Regions from separate parts of the Homo sapiens genome. Here region 2 is linked to region 1. The links are contacts of gene promoters, found by promoter capture Hi-C in human tissues and cell types (Jung and others, 2019). All regions are on one chromosome and are shown on one strand. Each heading gives the region's core, a stretch centred on a gene start or on the middle of the fragment in contact. The rest is flanking DNA. Distances are from core to core; before and after follow the strand shown. Region 1 holds the start of CBFA2T3 (CBFA2/RUNX1 partner transcriptional co-repressor 3). Region 2 has its middle 44 kb from the start of ACSF3.

The links. The method cuts DNA at HindIII sites, captures the fragments that hold promoters and counts their contacts. A contact is called where the count stands out against the background at its distance.
Region 2: a fragment that was not itself captured here is called in contact with the fragment with the promoter of CBFA2T3 in region 1 in 2 of the 25 tissues and cell types used here (lymphoblastoid cells and spleen).

Annotation. Positions count from the first base shown.
Region 1 is chr16:88,974,840-88,980,807 of GRCh38, reverse strand. It overlaps CBFA2T3 (CBFA2/RUNX1 partner transcriptional co-repressor 3), which reads left to right and starts at 3,601. Exons shown (of 12, transcript NM_005187.6): 1 at 3,601-4,151. The coding sequence starts at 4,001. RefSeq lists enhancers at 3,180-3,229, 5,070-5,279, 4,932-5,476. The HindIII fragment of the contact is 13,654 bases long and covers 1-5,968 here.
Region 2 is chr16:89,047,298-89,053,265 of GRCh38, reverse strand. No RefSeq gene overlaps it. Among named protein-coding and RNA genes, the nearest start is that of ACSF3, 44 kb to the left of the region's middle. The HindIII fragment of the contact is 8,249 bases long and covers 1-5,968 here.

The DNA.
Region 1 (5,968 bases), core at 2,352-4,851:
TCCACCCATTCACCCATCCACCCACCCATCCACCCATCCATCCACCTATCCACCCATCCACCCATGTATCCATCCATCCACTCATTCACCTGTCTATCCACCCATCCATCCCTACCCACCCATTCACTGATCCACTCATCCATCCACCCATCCACGCACCCATTCATCCACCCATCCATCCACACATTCACCCACCCACCGATCCATTCACCTACTCACCCATTCACCCATCTCTCCATCCACCACCCATTCACCCATTTATCCATCCATCCATCCATCCATCCATCCACCCATTCACTCATCTATCCACTCATCCACCCATTCACCCGTCTATCCACCCATCCACACATTCACCCATCTATCCACCCACCCACCCACACACCCATCCACCATTCATTCACCCACACACCCATCCATCCACCTACCCACCCATTCACCCATCTCTCCATCCACCCATCCATCCACACATTCACCCACCCACCTATCCATTCGCCTACTCACCCATTCACCCATCTCTCCATCCATCCACCCATCCACCCATCTATCCATCCACCTACCCATTCACCCATTTATCCATCCATCCTTCCACCTATTCACCCATCTATCCACCCATCCACCCATTCACCCATCTACCCACCCATCCACCCATCTATCCATCCACCACCCATTCACCCATTTATCCATCCATCCATCCATCCACCCATTCACTCATCTATCCACTCATCCACCCATTCACCCGTCTATCCACCCATCCACACATTCACCCATCTATCCACCCACCCACCCACACACCCATCCACCATTCATTCACCCACACACCCATCCATCTACCTACCCACCCATTCACCCATCTCTCCATCCACCCACCCATTTACCCATTTATCCATTCATCCATCCACCCATTCACCCATCTTTCCGCCCATTCACCCATCTATCCATCCACCCACCCATCCACACATCTATCCATCCACCCACCCATCCACCCACTCACTCACTCACCCATCTATCCACCCACTCACCCATCTATCCACCCATCCATCCACCCATTCACTCATCCACCCACCCACCCATCCACCCATCATCTACCCACCCATCCACTCACCCACCCACCCATTCATTCATCAATCTATTCATTCATCTATTCATCCAGCAGTGAAGGGTGTGTGTGTTGGGGGTGGGGGGGTTCCTACATGCTAGAAGAGAAGGCAAACATAAGACACCCTGCCTGAAGGAAGGCCTCCTCACCCACCCCCACATGGCGTCATCTCCCCCACTGCCCCCTCACCCTCCTCCAGTTCTCTGGCCATCCTACAGATTCACCAAAGCCTGCCTTAGGGCCCCTCTGCCCACCCAGGGACAGTTTCCCCAACTGCCCTATGGGCCCCACATGCTGGGCCATGTTGATGGAACGTGTCTCCTATAGTTCCCAGAGAGCAGGACCAGGGGCTGTCTTGGACACCGAAAGAACCCCAGTAGGCCCTAATAGGTCTTTTAGGAAGGAAGGAAAGGCCCCTCCTGCCCCGAGAGGCTGGGTGCTGGCTGCAGACAGCAGAGGTCCCTGGGAGAAGCCGAGGCCCCTCCTGCTGCCCCCACCTCTGCAGCCACTTCCTCCCCAGCCCCTTATCTCCTGGCCGCCCAGCTCTGAAAGCCACAGCCAACGTCTGCTTCCCCACAAGCACCAACTGCCCGGCCTGGGGGAGAGGAGGCCGGTAGTGGGGAGGTGGGGAGTGGTGCCCACACCCCCAGGTGGCCGCCAAAGTTGGGGGGCAGCTCCTGCCCCCAACTTGTGGGCAACTTTCTTCTCTTCTCTTTCCAACCCCACCTCCGTCAGACCCCCTGATTAGACACCAGGCAAGACGGGGCCAGGCGGGGAGCTCAGGGCCTCATTGCGAAAGTGGAAGTGTCCCATCTGTGGGGGGCGCAGGTGCAGGCCTCGAACATCTGCCTCAGGGCTGGGGGCAGGGCTGCCTGTCTCCTACCCCGGGTGGGGGGAGCCACCACCCTCACCCAGGGTGCTGTCCTGCTGCCTCACGGAGTGGGGGCTGTGCCCCCTGAGACCCTCAGTTCCCCGACTCTGAGACTCTCACTGCACACAGCTGGGGAATAGGCACTGACACAGACCAACCCCAGCCACATGCTCACGGTGGCCCCGGCCCATGTGGCGGCTCAGAGCCTCTGCTGTCTCCACTCCCGGAAACGCTGTAGGAGCTGACGCCGTTAGGATCGTGCACCCTGCACAAATGAGGAAACCAGGAGGGTCAGGGCCCCCAGGACCCTCACTGTGAATCCCACCCTGAGCCAGAGCACAGGGAACAGCAGGGGACGTGGGGACCGAATGATGGCACCAGGGGATGGGCCCCGGGCTGGCAGGAATGTCCCCTCCAGCCTCAGTCCTGGGGGCAGAACGGCCGACCACCCAGGGCAGGGGAGGCCCCGGGTGGGCCTGGCGTCTGGGAAGTTCCCCAGCAGGAACAAACACATCCCCACTGTAAGCTGGACACACACGCTGGCATGCAGCTTGTTGTCACCAACTCGAGAAAGACACTCGACTATTGGGACAGGGAGACCCGGGACACCTGGAGACCCTGCGGGGAAGGAGTCGGCTTTTACTCCTGCACGGCTTGAATTATTAACTGCGTGCAAACGTGACCTAAAACTCAAATCAAATCAAATCAAAATAGCACAGATGCCCGTGAGCCGGCCCTGGGTCTGCGGGCTCCACACCTCTGGCCTGTCTGAGGCCGGGAAACCTCCAGCCATGGCATCAGAAAAGCCACCGAACCAGGGCTGCAGGGCCGAAGGGTCACTGTCCCCTCCCAGGAAGCTCCTGCCCTCTGACAGTTGTCAGGGAGCTTTAGAAAGTGGCTTTTTTTCCCAGCATCTGGGATGTGCCTCACTCTCTCAGCCCAACGGCCGCTAGAAAGGGGTCCTAGGACTCTCCCTAGGGTCTAAGTAGTCCCAAGAGTGCTCTGAGGTGGCTTCTGGAATTTCCCAGACTGGAGAAGCCACCTACCCCCGACCCCCGCAAACTCCAGGCTGCTCACCGGAGGCGGCCGCTGGGGCGTGGGGTGAGGGTCTTTCTGAGGCACCCCCGGAGAGTGGGGGAGCCCTGCTGTCTCCACAGAGGGCCAGGAGCCCTGTGCACGAGGCCAAGCAGAGAGAGAGGGTTTCCTTCCCAGCAGGCGGGAGGTACTTTGAGGACAGGTCAGGTGCCCAAGAACCCCGGAGCAGGGGCTGAGGAGAGGCTGGTCAGAGGCCCCGCCTTGCTCAAGGGCACAGTCAGCAGACACAGGAACACGGGCAGGGTGGCCCCTGGAGCGGGGGCAAACTAAAAGGGGTGCTGGGGAAAGCTCGGCTGACTGAGGGCTAGCGGAGAGGGAGGACACCCCCAGATACCCCAGGCTGAAGGAAGGGCCAAGCCCTGGGGGGAAGATGGGTGGGCGGGACAGGCCAAGGGCTCTGGGCCAGGATGGAGCTGCCCTCAGGCCTGCACACCTGCCCTGGGGCCGAGGAAACACATGCCCAGTGGCCACGCTGTAGGGCTCAGGGTGGGTGGGACGTCACCAGAGCTGCCTGGGAGGAGGAAGTTGTTGGAAGGTCAAACCGGAATGGCCCGAGGGAAGGCCGCGCAGGGCAGGGCCCCAGATGGTTCCTGTCAGGGAAGTGGCGGGCGCAGCTGCAGGCCTCCGGCCCCGGCATTATCACGGGGACACAGCTGGCTGCCTCACCCGCAGGCTGCAGGGAGACCTTCCCCAGCCTGCAGCCCCAGGCCCGCCCCGCGTCACATGAGCCCCAGGGCTCCCACCCCCTCCCCAGGGCAGAGGACACCCAGTTGGTGGCCGGGAGGGCCTCGGCTTTCCAGGGACAGAGGCCCAACTCCAGGACGCCCCAGCTGGCCCAGCCCCTCCTCTTTCCCTCAAGGCTGCAGGAGGTCGGGAAAGGCAGTCCTGGTAGAGGCCTGTCCTGGGCTCCAGGTTGGCCCCTGAGGGTGGCCCTCCTCATGCCGGCTTCAAGACTGAGGGACAGGGCAGCCAGTTCAGCCTCGGGATCCACCTGTGGCTCCATGTCCCAGACGCACCCTGTGCTGGAGAGCGGCCTCCTGGCATCTGCCGGCTGCTCCGCACCCCGGGGTCCCAGGAAGGGCGGCCCAGGTAAGAGGCTCGAGGGGAAGGTGGTGGGGTGGGGGCAGAGAGCGGCAGCCGGTGCCGGGGCTGTGACTCCTTAGAGCTTCGCGGGGCCTGCCCAGCTTAGTTGACAGTGCCGGCACGGATGGCCGTGTTGACTCACCTCAGATATCAACAGGGCCACCCCACAGGCAGGTCCTGCACAGCTGGGGCAGGTGGGCTGGTGAGGGTTTGGCAGGTGCCAGCCAGGTGCCCCAGCCCCACCCAGAGGCAGATGCTGGAGGCCGGGCTGCTCAGCCCCGTCTAGGAGGGTGGGCTGTGTTCTCCTGGGGGTGGGAGGGCCGCAGCCGGGAAGTGATGGGGGGGTCCTAGAAAGAGAGCCCTCCTCCTCCTGGGATGCCCTCCGGGTGTGACACCTCACAGCAGGTTGGATGAGGAAACTGAGGCCAGAGGGGAGGGCACTGGCCCAAGACCCCGGTGAGGAGGAAATGGACCCAACCCTGGGCCCCTGTCCGAGGAACGATTCCAGCCAGGGCAGTGGGGGTTTACGGGGAACCTGGGCCTGCCCTTCTGGGGGCTTCGGGCTCTGGGGAGGGGTCCAGTCCAGCAGGACGCCAGCTATTGCTGATACCCCCCACCCGAGCCTGCGAAGTCCCAGGACAAGGATCCCCGGACGCTGGGGGCTGCAGCTGCAGGCTGGTGGCCCCGATTCCCAGTGGCCCTCGTGGCCACACTCCCAGCAGCCGTCGGAACCTTCAGGAGCTCACAGTCTCCCGTCTCGCGGGGCTCTCACTGAGGCCGTCAGGTCCAAGGTCTGACTGCACCCCTGACACTCACACACAGAACCCGGGACCGAGGGGTGTCCCCATCTCTGGAGACCACATTCCCTGAGCAGGTCCTGGCGGCGGCTGCCTGAGGCTGTTCCCACCTGCAGCTGCCCGTGGGGCCCCAGGGCCATCCCCCACAAGGGCCCCAGATGTGAGCAGGAACTTCCCAACCCCGGGTGCCCGGAATGCAAAGGCCGGACCTCACCACAGCCAGTGCTACTGTTCGTTTCTCCCGAATGGGTGACTCAGAGCCACCTTCAAGGCAGCACCAGCCCACTGGCCCTGGCATCTGCCATCCCGTCCTCTCTGGAGCGGCCCTGTCTATCCCCTGGCGCTGAGTGGCCTTGGGCCGGGTGCTTCCTCCCTGGGCCTCAGTTTCCTCATGGTTCAGACCCTTCCGACCTGCTCCCCGCGTGAGAGCAGGTTCTCACCGGCGCGGAGAGAGACGGGCTCTGAGGCGCATGGAGAGCCGCCGCTTTGTTAGGATGGGGGCGTCTACTGTGGAAGGACGGGGGTGTCTACCGTGGAAGGAGGTTAGGGCCAAGAGGTGGCCCCGTGCCTGAGTCATGCGAGGGGCTGCTGGCTAGAGGCATGAAACAGAGGGTCAGGGCGGGCCTCTGACATGGCTGCAGGTGAGGAGCAGAGGGTCAGGGTGGACCTCTGACATGGCTAAAGATGTGGAGCAGAGAGGGTCAGGGTGGACCTCTGACATGGCTGCAGGTCAGGAGCAGAGGGCCAGGGTGGCCTCTAACACAGAGTACCCAGCCACTGTGCCCACCCCCAGGGAGCCCCTGCTTAGGGGCTGCAATGTGAGGAGGGAGCAGGGTCTCACTTGGGTGCGGGGTCCTGCCCCTGGCTTCTAGGGGCTTCTGTCCGTGCAACCACCCGGCCCTATTCCAGGGTACCCATGGGACAGCCTTAGCCACATCAGGCAGCAGAGTTACATGTGAATACCAGCACTTGGGGCTTCTCATCCTGTACCCCAGGGGCCTCCCAAGGCCCCCAGGGGACAGATGT
Region 2 (5,968 bases), core at 1,460-3,959, 73 kb before region 1:
AACAACCCCCGGGGTCATCCCGCCAGACTCTCGGCCAGCCCTGCTGTCTTGCCAGCCGCCGTGTCCGCACAGGAGCCAGGGTTGGCACTCGATGAATAAACGCCTTTCAAGAGAAGAAACGCAGGGAGCTGGGTGTGGTCACCGTGGCAGACCGTTGGGGGAGGCGGGGGGCTGGGCAGGGGACAGGGTGGCCGGGGCTGGCGTGTGTCCCAGGGGACCTGGCAGGGGAAGGTACGCCCAATCAGGAGGCTCCTCGATGTGACGTGGATCCGTGTTTCCTCTTCTTCTTCCTGGTGGTTTACGTAAGAGGGAGAGCAATGGGGACGGGCAGGGACAGAGCTGCGGGCTGAGGTTCCTCCGTTCGGCGAAGCCCCTTCTCTCTGCCCCCGCCTGCTCTGGGCTTTCTTGGCTATGTCTGCTCCTGACAGGAGGGATGTGTGTTGCCAGGGGTGGGGGCTTGGCGTGTGTGCGTGTGAGAATATGTGTGTGTGTTTAAAATACAAAAAAAAAAAAAAAAGAAGCGTGCCTATACTCAGCCGCGAGACGCTGGCCAGCCTCCATCCGTGCCAACTCCCCTCCGAGCTGGCACTGGGGACTCCGGAGGCACGGGGAGGAGGAAGGTGCGGGCAGCTTGCGGTGAGGATGGACGCGTGCCACCGACGTATGCCAGCGGCTGCAGGGGGCCAAACGCCTATCCACAAAACCCACCGCGATCGCTGGCAGCCGTGGCGGGAGGCGGCAGCAGTTGGCAGAGGTGCCAGGGAGGGCCGGCTGGGGCAGGTGGATCCTGGCAGCAGCAGCGCAGGTAAAGCGTGCGGGCTCGCGGGGTGTGGGCGCCTGGCATCTGCGTCGGGTGCCAGAGGCCGGGGCCGGATCTTGGCCTGGCTCTGGGTTGCAGGGCGTGGCAGCATCAGGGAGGGCTGAATCCCGCAGGGTTCTGGGCCAGCCTGGTAGAGGACGGCTCCTCTCGGCTTCCCCAGCGTCGCCCTGGGGCCTGTTTCCAGCTGTGCTTGGCCCTTCGTCCTCCAGGGAGCTCGGTTGGGTGGGCTCGGTGGGGCCAGCATGGGGTCGGCCACATCACCTCCGCCTGATGCCCTGTGGGCCCCCAGGGCCAGGTCTCCTCTGCCCAGTTCCGTATAGTCCCCCAGATGGTCCCCAAATGTTGGTCGCTGTCCCCATGCGTGGGCTGCAGGGCTGTATCTTGGGGCCCAGGGCTCCTAGGGGAGTGCGTCTGCCTTCCCTCTCGTCTTCCCGGAGCCCCCGCCCCACCTCTTGCTCCCAGCCTGGCTTGGTGCCTCAGAGCCTGTGCGGAACGATGGGACAGACGCCAAACGTGTGGTAGCAGGAGTGCGGGTGACGGTGCAGCAAGCCCAGCTGCTGAGGGTGGGAAGGAGCCCGAGGTGAGGGACTCCCCAGCAGCTCCAAGGCAAAGTCCTGCTGCCCTTCCCAGCAATTACAGGCTGGGCAGAAAGAGCTGGGGGCCGTGGGAGAGGGGATTTTCACCTGCAGAAAGGTGGGTGACACCCAGGTGGGCCAGCGTGGAGCTGGCAGGGCTGGGGGTGTTAGTCCCGGCGTCTGGCTGTGGCCCCTCAGCGTGATCCATGGCGAGCAGGATGGCAGAGGCTGCCAGCCACAGCATCAGCTGGCAGAGGCTGGCACCAGACCCATGCCCTGGCAGGAGCATGGCACAGAGGGGCCCTGGCTGTGCCGGGGGCTCTGGGCTGGCCGCTGTCCCAGTCAATGCTCTGGGCAGCCAATCCAGTCCCAGAAAGAAGGTTGCACTGGAGGGGCGATTAGAGCACATGGGCAGGGGCTGGGGTAAAGATGGCTGGGTGGCTGGGCCCCCAGCTCCTCCAAGCCCGGGAGGAGGTTAGGCCCATGGACCTTAAAACTCCGAGCCTAGAGTCGGGCTGGCCCACAGGAGCCTCCACCTTGAAGGGGCTAGGAGGGGCCTCTGAGGCCAAGGTCAGGAGCCCGGGCTGGGCTGAGGGGCAGGGAGGGCTGGGGGGGCGGGGGAGGGCAGTGGTCATCTGGTCCAGACGCCCAGGGGTCGGGCAGAGGTCGGGAACACAGGGTCCTGGGGTCGGACAGAGCCGGCAGGACTGAAGGCCCACGAGGGGTCTGGGCTGTGCTTCAGAGCTTCAGGGAAAGGCTCAGAGCCCCGCAGAGGCCCAGCCTGAGACATCCCGGGGGCGGAGGTGCGGCGGGGCTCCCAGGGACTGGCCATCCTCAGCCTCCTCTTCCCCTTAAGCCCCGGGAGGCGCTGCTGTGGCGGCTTCAGTCCGACTCTGGCCAACACTTCATGACGGGGGCTTCCCCTTGGAAGTGCTGGCGGTGGGGTCATCCCGGGTGGGCCTTGGCGCAGGTGAGCTTCCCCAGTGGCCGCCTGGACCCGGCCCTGCAGTCCCTGCCCTCAGATGGCACAGGCGTGGAGGGCGGGCAGGGTGGGCCCCAGCATGGGTGTCAGTGGGATAAACACTCAGGCAGGGGGGCTCCGGGGATTTGGGGACACAGCAGTGGCCCTGGCCCCTCAGGCTCAGGGGTGGGGGGCGGGGCACAACACATTCCAGGATTCCCAGAGGAGACTTAGATGGGCGAGGTGCTGGCTGGAACCCTGGCTTGGGTCTGCACTGGGTGGGATGGCAGCACCTGTGGGTCCCAGGCCTCAGTCGTGAGGAGAGTGGCATGAGTGGATGCCCCTCCCTCGAGGGCCCCAGGGGACCTGAAAATGGCATGGAGGGTGGGACAAGCTGGAAGCTGCGGCCCCCACGATGGAGACTGGGGACCGGGCTTCTCCCGCTCTGCTGGGCAAGGTCCCCCCCCCAACCTCTCACCCCCCACCCCTCACCTGCAGGCCTGAACACCCAGCAGGCACCTCACCCACTGAGGGGCTTCCGGGGTCCTGGCTGCCCACTGGGCTTCCAGCAACAGGTGCAGGTCCCTCCGGCCCCAACCACAGCCCCGTCCCATGCCCCGGGTGTGTGCCGCCCCTGCGGCGCCCCATTCCAGCCCTGCCTGACCCAGGTCAAGACTGTCTCTCAGGCCCCTTCCCACCCTCAGCTGCTCTGACCCGGCCATGAGCCTGAGTAGGAAGGGTGGGCAGGGGGCTGTCCCGGGATCGAGGAAGTTGGCCCTGCCATCACCCCCACTGTTTCACCCACAGCTGCCCCTGCACAGGGCTGGTCTTTGTCAGGGGCGCAGCCTTGCTGGGCCACAGCAGAACAGGGGACCCTGCTGCCTGCCGCAGCCCTCCTCCCTCCACCTCCGAATTTCACAGTCCCTGCTTCCCGCGCCGGCTCGGAGCTCCCTAGAGACTCCTGCCAGATGTTCCTGGCAGCCTCACATCGCTTCCCTAATGAAATATTCATGGGCCTTTCTGCCTCTTGACATAAAGCCTTCTGCAGCTCCACGCACCATGGAGAGGGAGCTGGCCTCCCAACAAACCCTAGGAAGGAGTGGGCGCCCGGCCAGCCCCTCCCCCTGTGCCAACCCCGGCCGCCCACTGTGCCTCCCGAGACAGTGGCTGGGCCTCCGCCTCCCCTTTGCTCTGCTAAGGGTCAGGGGTCCAGCTGCTGCGCCCTCCCCCAGCCCAGAGGCCTCCCTGCCGCCTCCGCCTCCCGAGAGCCCAGTGCCAGCTGTGCGGGCACATCAGCCCTGGGGCTGGGCTCTGGAGGGAGGGCAGCCGCCACCCCGCATAGGAGGGAGCCAGTACCTGTGTGTCCAGGACCACCCTCACAGGCCCAGGGAGGAGGGGTTCTCCCTACCTCTTACTTCAGTACCTTGGTGGCCAAGAGCTCCTTACCCCATGCCAACAAGACCAGGCTCCTGGAGTCCACCTCGCCCCTAGCTGCATGGTGGCCAGCCTGGTCTTGCAGTCACCCGATGTCATCCGTCCACACCTCTGTCCCTGTGCTCACGCACACGGTGTGGGCACCACGCCGGGTTCTGTGCGTGGAGATCAGACTTCATGACGTTGAGCAAAACCTGCCCAGCCTTGCGCTCCAGGTATTCACGCCAGCCCCCACCAGGTCATGTGGGCGGAGGACCTCGGGGCAGGGGTGGTGAGGGCAAGAAGGACAAGACGGATGGAAAGTTCCAGGGCCTGGGAACTGTGTGAGGAGTAGAAAGCGGCCAGTCAGTGAGTCCTACACAGAGGGGACCTTTGTGCCCCAGGTCAAAGGAGAAGGGAGCGGGCCCCAGCCGAGTCCACACCAGCCTCTGCTCGGTCCACAGGCCCTGTCTGGCTCTGCTAGGTCTCCTCAGTCAGGAGGTCCATGAGACCCCGGCCCCGGGTTCTGGTCTGTAGGTGGTGGCCACAGCGAGGCCCCTCTGAGCGGGAGTCTGCCCCACATGGGGTGCCCTCTCCACGCGCCTGCGTGGCTCACCCTGGGCTCTGCTCTGCTGTGCAGGCAGGGGCCCAAAAGGCTTACCCGGGGGATCTAGGGCTGCCCCAGTCTCTGTGATTCCCGCGCCCCCTTGCTCCTGGCCTCTGGGTCAAGCCTTTGTCTTTAGCGGTCATCTCGACCTTAACTGTCACCTACAGTGGCAGGGAAACAGTTACCCTACCATTCACAGAGACAGTCTCAGCCTCCACATTTCGGGAGACAGAAGTTCAGAGAGGCCATGTTGCTTCCCTGAGGCCGCAGAGCCAGAAAAGAAGCTGCCTGGGCGCATCTATCCAGGAGCCCCGGCATCGTCACCAGGGCCACACAAGCAGCGAGGACCCTCCCGGGAACCAGCTCCCTGACTGGGACGCCCCAGCCCTCCTGAGCTCACTGCCCAGGGATCCGGCCAGTGCCCCTCCCCCATGCGGGCAGTGGGCTGGGACGCGCGGGGGGAGGGGGCTTGGGCCGCGTCGTCCCTCCGCCTCCCCAGGTCCCAGCCGTCTTGCTCCCTGAGCTGCTGGCGGGGTAATAAGCTCTGCGTGTGGTGTGGAAATAAAGCACGTTCCACGGAACAAATGGTGTTAATGTGCAGAAGCACTGCAGCCCGGAGTTACCCAGCGCCTGGAGGGCGGCGCGGCAGCTGCACCAGAATGAGCGGCTGCGCGGAGAATCAGCGAGGCCATACGTCCCCGTCCCCGTGGAGGGACAAAGCATCCCAGCCCTGGCCCCCAGCAGCGCCGGCCCTCCAGGCGGGAGGCGGTTCCAGGAAGTGAAGTGAGCAGGTGCTGGGACTCCCCTCCCCTCCTGGAGGCGCCTGCCCAGAGTAGTCAGTGACCACCCCTAGGTCCCACCTGACGGCCCTGCCTGGCCAGGTGTGGTGGCCACTGGGACAGCCTCCCTCAGACCCGAGGCCACTGCCTGTGGGGTCCAGCGGCCTTGTCCTGTCTCAGCTGCCATCACCCCACCAGGCCCCCAAAATGTGCTCTGGGGCCCATCCCGCCACAAAGCCTGGGGTCTCACTGCTCCTCTCCTAGAACGGCCACTTTTCTTCTTTACGCAGGGGTCACGCTCCAGGCCTTTCTCCAAGCCCTCCCCGCGCTGGGACGCATTTACCCGCCTGCCTGTTGACTTCGGCTGGCACCCACTCCTGGGCTGCTCAGAGCTGCTGCTCCCTGTTGATGAGCACTGTAGGTGGCTTCGAGATGCACGCCTCGGGACGATCTGCCTTCCTCCCCCGCCTGCCATTCCCGCACTGACAAACGTCTGCCCTGGGTGTTAGGAGCGAGGTGCACATTGCACCTTACATCCTCATGGGCGGCTCCAGGAGCCTCACTGCAGCTGATGAGTACTTAACACCATCATCCATCTGTGTGGCCGTTGGGGCTGGCACAGAAGCTCTGGATGCCTCTACCTGGAAACCAGGGCTGTTCTCCCTGGATGGCAGGAAGGAAGCAGGTGGGAGGCGGGCGGAGGTGCTTGTTCCACCGGCACTCCTGGGTTCTGAGGACATGGCACTTCCCCGCCTGTGTCTTGCTTTGGCCATAGGTTCTGAGCTTCTGCTTCTCCTCTGTGGGTACGAGGGC